Linked DNA regions of Homo sapiens: region 1 is linked to region 2. Evidence: promoter capture Hi-C in 16 types of primary human blood cells and fetal thymus (Javierre and others, 2016). All regions are on one chromosome and are shown on one strand. Each heading gives the region's core, a stretch centred on a gene start or on the middle of the fragment in contact. The rest is flanking DNA. Distances are from core to core; before and after follow the strand shown. Region 1 has its middle 57 kb from the start of LRRC74B. Region 2 holds the start of CCDC116 (coiled-coil domain containing 116).

Region 1 (4,495 bases), core at 535-3,034, 530 kb after region 2:
AAAAGAAAGGGAATCATGTAAGCGATAACTCAATCACTGGTTGTTATCAAACATATACACAGAAAAAAAATACAATGTAGCAAAATACATATCCAAACCAATACAAAGAACTTGAGTAGACATCTCTGCAAAGATGACACAAAATTGACCAACATGTAAGAGAAACGGTCCTCAACGTCTCTCATCAGAAAAAAAATGTACCTCAAAACCACATTCAGATGCCGTTTCACTTTTATTGAAATAAATGTTACTAAAAAGTTTTTTTTTAATTTTTTGAGACAGGGACTCAGACTTTGTCACCCAGGCTGAAGTGCAGTGTCGTGATCCCAGCTCACTGCAGCTTTGACCTCCCTAGCTCAGGTGATCATCCCACTTCAGCCTCTCAAGTATCTGGGACTACAGGTGCACACCACCATGCCTCATCCTCCCAAAGTGCTGGGATTACAGGCATGAGCCACTGTTCCTGGCCACAAAATTTTAAAAAGAATGCTGGTATGGATTTGGAGAAAAGGGAACTCTTATACCCTGTTGATGGGAAGATAAATTAGTACATATTCTATGGTAAAAAGTTGGAAGTTGCCATTTTCAAAAAACTGAAAATACAATTACCAGAAGGTCAATGTGGGCAGATTACTTGAGCTCAGGAGTTCGAGACCAGCCTGGGCAACATGGCAAAACCCTGTCTCTACAAAAAATTTAAAAACTTAGCCAGGCATGGTGGTGTGTGCCTGTGGTCTCAGCTACCATAGACTGAGGTGGGAGGGCTGCTTGGGCTGTGGAGGTAGAGGCCACAGTGAGCTGTGATTGCACCACTGCACTCCAGCCTGGGTGACAGAAGAAACCCCGTCTCAAAGAAAATGACAGAAAATGCAAATACTGTAAGATCTAGCAATCCCACTACTGGGTATAACTCCAGAGCAAATGAAATCGGCACCAGAGATCAGAAAGACACAATGGGGACAGGAGAGTTTCTTCATGAAATCATTTTGAGGAAACTGATATCCATATGCAAAAAAGAAAAGAAAAGAAATAGGACCCTTCTGTTACACGATACACAAAAATCAACTCAAAATGGATTAAAGATTTCAACACAAAACCTGAAACCACAAAACATTATTAAATTCCTGTAAGAAAAGATAGGGGGAGCTTACTTTCAGGACAACTTGAATCCATGCTCATCAGTTGGAAAGAGTTTCAAAAAGAAAAAGAGGAATACATAAGGGGTAAAAACCTCATGGAGAATGGAATGGTTTGTGAATGATTTTTTTAAATTGGGGACCAAAATCACAAGCAAGGAAAGCAAGAACAACCATGTGAGGCTACAAGAAACTGAAAAGCTTCTGTGCCACAACGGAAAAAATGAGCCCGAAGTTTGGACGAAAGTTTTGAGGAATCATATAACTGCTAAGGGGTTCTTACCGAAAATATACAACACATTAACAGTACTAAATAGCAATTTAAAACAACAACAAAAAATAATCCACCCCAAACTGGGCAGAGGCCCAGAACAGACATTTCTGCAAAGAGGACAAAAAACCCACACCGAGGAGTCCCTCGCCCCTGGTCAGGCGGCCACGGTGGGAGGGACACGAGAGGACACGCGCTGCCCAAAAGTGAAGAAGAGTGACCCCTGGGTCCTGATGGCAGGAACGAAGATTTAAAAATGCAGCAAGGCCCAATGCAAATCCTCCCTCTGAGGCTTGGACACGAGGCAGCCAGCCAGAACTGGGCCTGGCCCTGACTCCAACCTGAGCGGGGCTTCCCTCTCTCTCCCTCTACACAGGGGAGGTTCCCTCAGAAAAAGTCTTTTTCTGTTGTTGGTTTGGTTTTTTTTTTTTTTTTCAGAACTAGAAATGTATTTATTTATTTATTTATTTTTAATAAAAACCAAGATTTTTTTATTATTATTATACTTTAAAGTTTTAGGGTACATGTGCACAACATGCAGGTTTGTTACATATGTATACATGTGCCATGTTGGTGTGCTGCACCCATCAACTCGTCATTTAGCATCAGGTATATCTCCTAATGCTATCCCTCCCCCCTCCCCCCCACCCAGAAAAAGTCTTAAACCCCTAAAAATACCACAGTCTGCTACACTTGACACCCTCAAAAGCCTTCAGAGAATGAATACCACTGTAAAATAAATACTAAAACACTACAAGAGAAAGAGGAAAACCAGGGAGAACAGGAGAGGAATGAACAGAACATACCAGAAAACTAAAGCTTCTGTACTCACCATGCAGGAAAAATGCCAGGGAAAAGTGCATGGCAGCTTCCTCCTCAGCACTCAGGGCCCAGACAGGAGCGGTTTTCTCCCCAGGACACAGCTCCAAGTCGTCCAGAAGCCTCCGTGATGCCCCTCCTGGCGGGTCCTGAGGGTATCAGAGCTCCTCTCCTCCTCACGGTGGATGCCGCCACTCACTCCATGCAGCACCTGCGGGGAGAACACTGCAAGAGCACGATGTGGGGCAGAAAAGGTGGTTGGGGCGCCCCCTGATGGTCACGGTGCAGAGTGAAGAATGATCTCATCCCATGGTCAGCATCGGCCCAGGCTGCGGCCCCATCGCCCAGGAACTCCTCCCGCTCCTGCTCGGCGTGGGGTGCCACAGCCACCTCCTACTCTTCTGCTACTGTCAGTGCTGCCTGTCTTCTTGGTGCTCCAACGCTGACAATTTGGGGAGACATAAACACTTAGGCTATAGCAAGGAAAATCCAGAATGGTGGTGGAAGAGAAGGACTTAGCATCAGTCACAGTGTGAGACCAGCAGCAGCAACAGGACCTAGGATTCATTCCAATGAGAATCACCTGGAAATCTCCCCCAGGAAAAGAGATCAAACAGATTCCTGGAGGAAATGCTCTTGGGGTTTCTTTAAAGAAGCTAGTGGGACTAAGTAACACAAGACTGGGGCTTTTGTGGAAAGAGTGATGTCCACTAATAATGTCCTCTTAAGGACTGAACATCTCTTCCCAAATAGCTGAATGTGATCGGCAGTAGGCATCAGCTGAGACCTTTTATGACGGCCCTTGGGTAAGGAATCACTCAAGCTCCCTCACTCTTCCAGGGACACAGTTAGCACGGTGATGAAGCTCCAGCGCTCTCACCACCTCTAGACTCTGAGGGGCCATCCCAGCTCCAGAGCTCCCCACAGAAGTGGCTCTGTTTGTTGTAGGTGCATCACACCGAGGCTGGTTCTTTAAATTAACCCTGGGAGTGTGATGAAACCAGCAGTAAGTAGAAAGGACAGAAACAGGGAGTTGCTGCTACAAGACCCGAAAGTGCAGGAGGATGAGGGTGCACTCCTTCACCCCCACAGACACACACTAGAGGACCTCAGTCCCCAGCTTCAAGTGTCTGTGAGTGCCTAGGAGAGAGTCATGCCCACAGACATCCTGCATTGTAGGTCAACATCAAGCCCACCCAATAGCTCTGGTGCTCAATTCTCAAGAGATAACAAACAGCCAAACAAAACTTAAGGCTTTGATGTTTGGTGGTGACAGAGGCAGGAAAGAGCAGGTCACATGGAAAAGATAATCTTTGAGTAGTAAAGCAAGGAAAGATGAGCACACACATGACACTTAAAGGCCATAGATGATGGCTCTTTTAATTATGTCACTTTTTTTTTTTTTTTTTTGAGACAGAGTCTCACTCTGTCGCCCAGTCTGGAGTGTAGTGGCATGATCTCAGCACCGCAACCTCCGCCCTCCCAGGTTCAAGTGATTCTGGTGCCTCAGCCTCCCAAGTAGCTGGGATTACAGGCGCCCACCACTACGCCTGGCTAAGTTTTGTATTTTTAGTAGAGATGGGGTTTCACCATGTTGGCCAGGCTGAGCTCAAATTCTTGACCTCAAGTGATTCACCTGCCTTGGCCTCCCAAAGTGCTGGGATTACAGGCATGAGTCACCACGCCCAGCCAAGATACCCGATGTAAATCAAAATTAAAAGAATGCAAAACCATAAAGCACAAAATATATGCACATGTTGAGGTTAAAGGAACTCTCTTCTAGATTTCCTGATTCTGGTTGCTGAAGTGCAACCTTTCTCATCCCTTTCCTGTCCTGACTTTTCTGGGGCTCTAAGCCCATCCTTATCTGGCCCCCTGGGGGAGCTAGGTCTGCATATGGGATCTTGAGTAAAGAAGGAAATGAGAAAAAGCCTCAGGCAAAGGAAGAGCATGGACATGCAAAGGCCCTGGGGAGAAATAAGTATGACAGAGAAAGGGACTGGAAGAAGAGTCTTGAACATCTGCAAAGTGCAGACACACATTGGGCTAGAAACTGTGCTTTTACTGAGCAATTTCACCTAATTTTCACAAAACCCAATAACATGACTACAGATATGTTTTTTTCTTGAAACAGGATCTCACTCTGTCACCCAGGCTGGAGTACAGTGGTGTGATCACAGCTCACTGCAGCCTCAACTTCCCTAGGCCCAGATGATCCTCCCGCCTCAGCCCCCTGAGTAGCTGGAACTACAGTCGTGCACCACCATGC
Region 2 (5,068 bases), core at 1,487-3,986:
GGGAGGAAAGTGGAGGTGTGACAGGGCCCCTGAGGTGGCCCTGGCTGCAGGCCACCTCCACCACAATCCCTGGCGTGGGCAGGGTGAGGTGCAGGCCCTGCCAGGGCTGGGCCCTCTGGCTGGAGCTCAGGGAAACAGGTGGGTTTTGTAATTTGGGATCTGAGTCAGGTGCCTCCTCCCTGGAGTGGAGTGAGGGGCTGGGGACATTGGGCTTCTCCGTGGGTGTCACCTTGAGTTTGAATCTGGTGGCCACCTGGGCACTAGACATGGAGGGGGAGCCTCCTCTGTCCTTGCGTTTTCTCTGAAGCATCTTGGGGCTGGAGACTGTGGGGCGGGGGGAAGCATAGGGCTGCCCGCCATTGGTGGGTTTAGCTGGCTCAGAGCCCAGAGGCGGCAGATCTGAGGTGGGCTCCAAGCTGGTGGGGAACAGAGGACGGCCGTCGCGGCAGTGGGCGCCACGGAGCTTATCCACAGCCTGGCTGACCACGCTTTGCAGGGCAGGGAAGAGGCGGTGGTCAGCCAGGAAGTTCAGCGTGCGATGGGGCTCACGGAGCGGACAGTAGCCAGGCAGGTCGAGGGACTCCAGCTGGCTCAGTAATGACTTGATCTCCTTATTGAACTCTCGCTTGCGGAAGATTGGCTCCTGTTCTCCAGGCCTCGGCTCTGATGCTTCAGGCACGCCAGAGCTTGAGCCCAGCAGCCCTGAGAACCAGGACAAGGGCTGCTCCTGTGTCCACTGAAAGCTGGTCTGGCTACCCAGCGAATCCCACAGCAGGGAGTCCCTCTGGGAGCAGGACTGACTGAGGCCTTTCTGCAGAAAGAGGGTGACTCTGTGAAGTGTTCAGGAGCAGCCAAGCCAGGGCTGACCCTAGCCCTGGGCTCTCCATGGGAGTCCACCCCACCCAGCCATGGCCCTGGCTCTCACCCCTTCCCTCTCCAGCTGTAGCAGCCGCTTGAGGTTCTTCTCCAGCAGGAGTTTGTCCCTCACAGGTGGCAATGAGCCTTGGGCACCTAGGTCACTGTCCCGGCTGTGGGAGCCCAGACAGCCGGCCATGAGGCTGCTATGGCAGTTGGACATGGAGCTGGAGCTGGATGGGTAGTTGTTGGGGTGTCCAGTGCAGAGGGTCGGCCGTACACGGTGCCGGTGTACGGTGCTGAGGCTGGGCCGGGCATGTGCCCGCCGTCCACCACTTGGCACCTCCACTGGGTCCTGCACCTCCACAAGCGGCACCCCAGCCTCCGTCTTCATGGCAGCCATGCGCTCAGTCGCCTTCTCCACCACTGTCTCCAGGCTGTCCAGGACCTGGCTCTCAGTTAGGAAATCCAGAAAGTGGCCAAAGGGCTGAGGGTGCCTCTTGTTTCGGCGTTGGCCCTGGAGTGCTGAGCTGCCACATGTGGATGGTGGGTGTGGCACACGGCCCGGCTTGCAGGCTGGCCGCATTTCTGGGACCAGTGGCTTCTTGGGCAGCTGCACCTGAGCAGACAGGTATGTCACAGGGGGCAGGGGTGCCCTACAGGTGAAGGGTTCCCTGGGGTAACACTAGGACCTGGGTGGGAGTGAGTAGTGGAAGGAGCTGCATTTTGGAGTCTGGAAGCCCTGGGTTTGGACCCTGGCTCTGCCACCTACAGCCTGATGCCAGTGTGCAAGATGGCCCCTCTTGAGGTCCAATGTCCTCATCTGCAAAGTGGAGGTCTATTCAGGGTCACCCCGAAGCTTTCCTAACACCTACATTTCACACACACAAGTCCTGGCTAAGGAGTCTGCAAGCCTGCTTCTGCCCTGACACGTGGCAGGATGAGCAATCATGAATCTCTCGGAGTCTCCCTCCAGCTCCTCATCTGTCCATGCAGCAGGCCATCCCTGTATCCATGGCAGGGCTGCAAACAACATCTGAGGTCTTGAGTGCAGACAACACCTGAGGTCTTGAGCCCTGTGCTACCCGGGCCTGTTTCTCCAACTTGAGCCATAGGCACCTAGTCAACTCCATGCTCCCACTCTAGGGTCCCAGTCCACCCAAGCACCTTCTGGGTCGCTGGAAGTCAGGAGGAAACAAGGAATGAAATTGAGTGTGACAGGGGCAAGCAGTGGGGGACATAGGAGAAGTCAAGGCAATAAGGACTTCACTAAGAGGCCCAGAGAAGTCAATAGACAATGAGAAATGGGGGTTGTGGTCTTGGGTGCCAGGGTTGGTGGGGAACATGTTGTGGCCTCAAGGGTCGGCGCCCTGCTGGGCACACTTACCCGTGCACTGCACATGGAGTGGCTGGCCTCGTCATCGGCCAGGTAACCCGAGTGGTGGCGGCACCTGGCCATGTGGTCACCTGGCAGGTGACCGGGCCTGCTGCCCACCTCTCTCTTCAGCTGCGCATTCCTCTCTGCGTGGGGTGGGGAGACAACCTGAGGGTCTCCAATAGGTCCACGCATCTGTGGCCCTGGAGTCTGCGGGTCCCTCGCTCCCCGCACCCCGCCTCCTTCATGCATCCAGCCCTTCCTCTGCTCCATGGCCCCCATGCGTCTGCAGGCAGGCAGTTTCCAGAGTCATCGGGGTGGAATCGCTGAGGACAATCCTGTCTCCGATCATCTTTGGATCTGCGTGTGCTCGACCCGCCCTCCTCCCAAACCCTGGGCAACCTGGCTTTCACCCCAGCCCAGAATCAACAGACTCACCAGAAACACCGCCTTGCTCCGCACAGGCCAGTACAGTCTGCGCCCTCACTGGAGCAGCTGCACAGTGCGAGGAAGTCGGCTGGCGGCCTCCACTTGCTTATTTGCATACCACATCCTCATTGGTTCTTACCGAGGAGCTCGTCCACTTCCCTCTCCGACACAATGGTTGGGGGCGGGGCCCACATTGGCCCCACCTCCAATTCTCTGGGCTCTGCCCTCCCACACTCGCCTGGGAGCCGCAGGCTGAGGATGCTGGTGCCCACGCTCCCCGCTGCCGGGAGGACCCCCCACCCACCACCGAAGCTGGGGCTAGGCTCTTTGATCTGCTCCTGCCCCGAGGGGAGCCTAAAAGCCAAAGCCACGTCTTCCACCGGTGGCACAAGCACCTTCCTCGTGTCCTCCTTGGTTGCTGCGCAGCCCTGGGCCTCCTGCTCCTGTTCGTTTCCAGGGGCCTCTGCCCTTCCCGCGGTGTGCACAGCCCCAGGTTCTGCCTTGAGACCTCTCCCCTCTGCAGTGGAAAGAGTGCCGGCTCTAAGTCACAGACCTAGCTTCAGTTCCTGGCTCTGCTCTTTCCTGCCAATGTGACTCAACCTCTCAGCATTAGTCCCACACTGTAAATGGGCTTGAGTGTTCTTCCAATATGGGAGTATGGGATTCAATAAAATCTCCCTACAGCACACCCAGTAACCCAGTGGAGCCTTGTGTATTCTTTAATTAATTAATTTATTTATTTGGAGACGGGAGTCTCGCTCAGTCGCCCAGGCTGGAGTGCAGTGGCGCAATCTCGGCTGACTGCAAGCTCCGCCTCCCGTGTTCACGCCATTCTCCTGCCTCAGCCTCCCGAGCAGCTGGGATTACAGGGGCCCGCCACCACGCCCGGCTAATTTTTTTGTAGTTTTAGTAGAGATGGGGTTTCACCGTGTTAGCTAGGATGGTCTCGATTCCCTGATCTTGTGATCCGCCTGCCTTGGCCTCCCAAAGTGCTGGGATTACAGACCTGAGCCACCGCGCCCAGCGGAGCCTTGTATATTCTTACCTCCTCTCCCTCCCTCCTTTTCCCCTTTGCTCAGTAATACCCCACCATGGTGTCACTTCTTCCAAAAACCTTTTACTGTGAATTCTGCCACGCCCTACGCAATTCACAGTAAACCCCATTCCAGACTCTACCATACCATGTTGCTACTTATTTTTCTATCAGATGGTGCTTCTTTGGGGCCAGAACAGAGGCAAGTCACCCTTAATCTCTAATACTTTCAGTGTCTGGCACCAAGTAGGTGCTCAATAAATGTCAGTCTCCTCCTTCCCACCTGCAGACCCTCGGGACCTCTGACCTTTCCAAGATCAGCTTCCAGTGGAGAACGGTGGTTGGTTGAGGTCTGACAATTCACCAGTCACTATAAACACATCAGTCCTTATGCCAAGAGCATGGCTGAAGGACTCTATGAGGCTTTCAATCCTCACATGCCTCACGAAATATTGTTCCTCTCAAGCTCTGCTCTGTCCTCTCAGCTCTGGCTACCCACTAGGTCAGGGACAGAGAGGACATAGCAGGCCTGGGTGCTGGCCCCGAGGTGTGAGGTTCAGTCTTAGCTCCACTACTCCTGGCAGGACCACACTTTCGCTCTCTGAACCCCAGTTTCCTCATCTGTGAAACAGGAATGACATTACCAATTTCATAGCCCGGACACAAATACCACACTTTCCATGGGAAAAATCAAGACTGTCACATTGCAATGGAAACTGTGGCTGCCAACCATAATGACTATTTATACAGTCATGGGTAAGGAAAGCTTTTCTGGACCAAAGAGAAAACAGTGAAGTTATGAATGTAAAAGCTGTAGCCTGGCAGAGAGCTCAAGATGGAAACTGGAGATAATGTTTTCTCAAATGAAGCCTTAGTGTATATGCTTTCTTTCATTTTCTTAGTGTCTAGAGCTCAAGAAAAAAAAAAAATCAACAAATCAAGAAAATGCCTGCTCTTAGAAAAATCTGCAAAAGATCAATAGGCAATTTGAAAAAGAATAAAAATAGCTAATAATATGAAAATTTTCATTCGCACTGCTAAGAAACTACTAGAATGTGATAACATTGATATAATCATCTTTATGTTCTCAAAACAACACACAAAAAAGTTGGGTTGGGGAGAAAGGGAGTTGGGTGTGTTTATTTGCTTAGAGAAAACACTGGAAGGACACAACCCAGAAAGTTTACAATGGCAATCTCTGGGAAGGGTAGGAGATTCTTTTTTTTTTTTTTTTTTTTTTTTGAGACGGAGTCTCGCTCTATCGCCCAGGCTAGAGTGCAGTGGTGCGATCTCGGCTCACCACAACCTCCGCCTCCCGGGTTCAAGCCACGCTCCTGCCTCAGCCTCCCGAGTAGCTGGGATTACAGGCGCGTGCC

The links. The method cuts DNA at HindIII sites, captures the fragments that hold promoters and counts their contacts. A CHiCAGO score of 5 or more calls a contact.
Region 1: a fragment that was not itself captured here is called in contact with the fragment with the promoter of CCDC116 in region 2 in 5 of 17 cell types (endothelial precursors, naive CD4 T cells, M1 macrophages and 2 more); the score reaches 6.9 in endothelial precursors.

Annotation. Positions count from the first base shown.
Region 1 is chr22:21,100,971-21,105,465 of GRCh38, reverse strand. It overlaps the pseudogene BCRP2. Among named protein-coding and RNA genes, the nearest start is that of LRRC74B, 57 kb to the right of the region's middle. RefSeq lists enhancers at 2,585-2,634, 2,083-3,054. The HindIII fragment of the contact is 889 bases long and covers 1,340-2,228 here.
Region 2 is chr22:21,630,428-21,635,495 of GRCh38, reverse strand. It overlaps CCDC116 (coiled-coil domain containing 116), which reads right to left and starts at 2,736. Exons shown (of 5, transcript NM_152612.3): 1 at 2,669-2,736; 2 at 2,243-2,376; 3 at 926-1,474; 4 at 230-811. The coding sequence starts at 2,314. RefSeq lists an enhancer at 2,505-3,004. The HindIII fragment of the contact is 2,744 bases long and covers 1,717-4,460 here.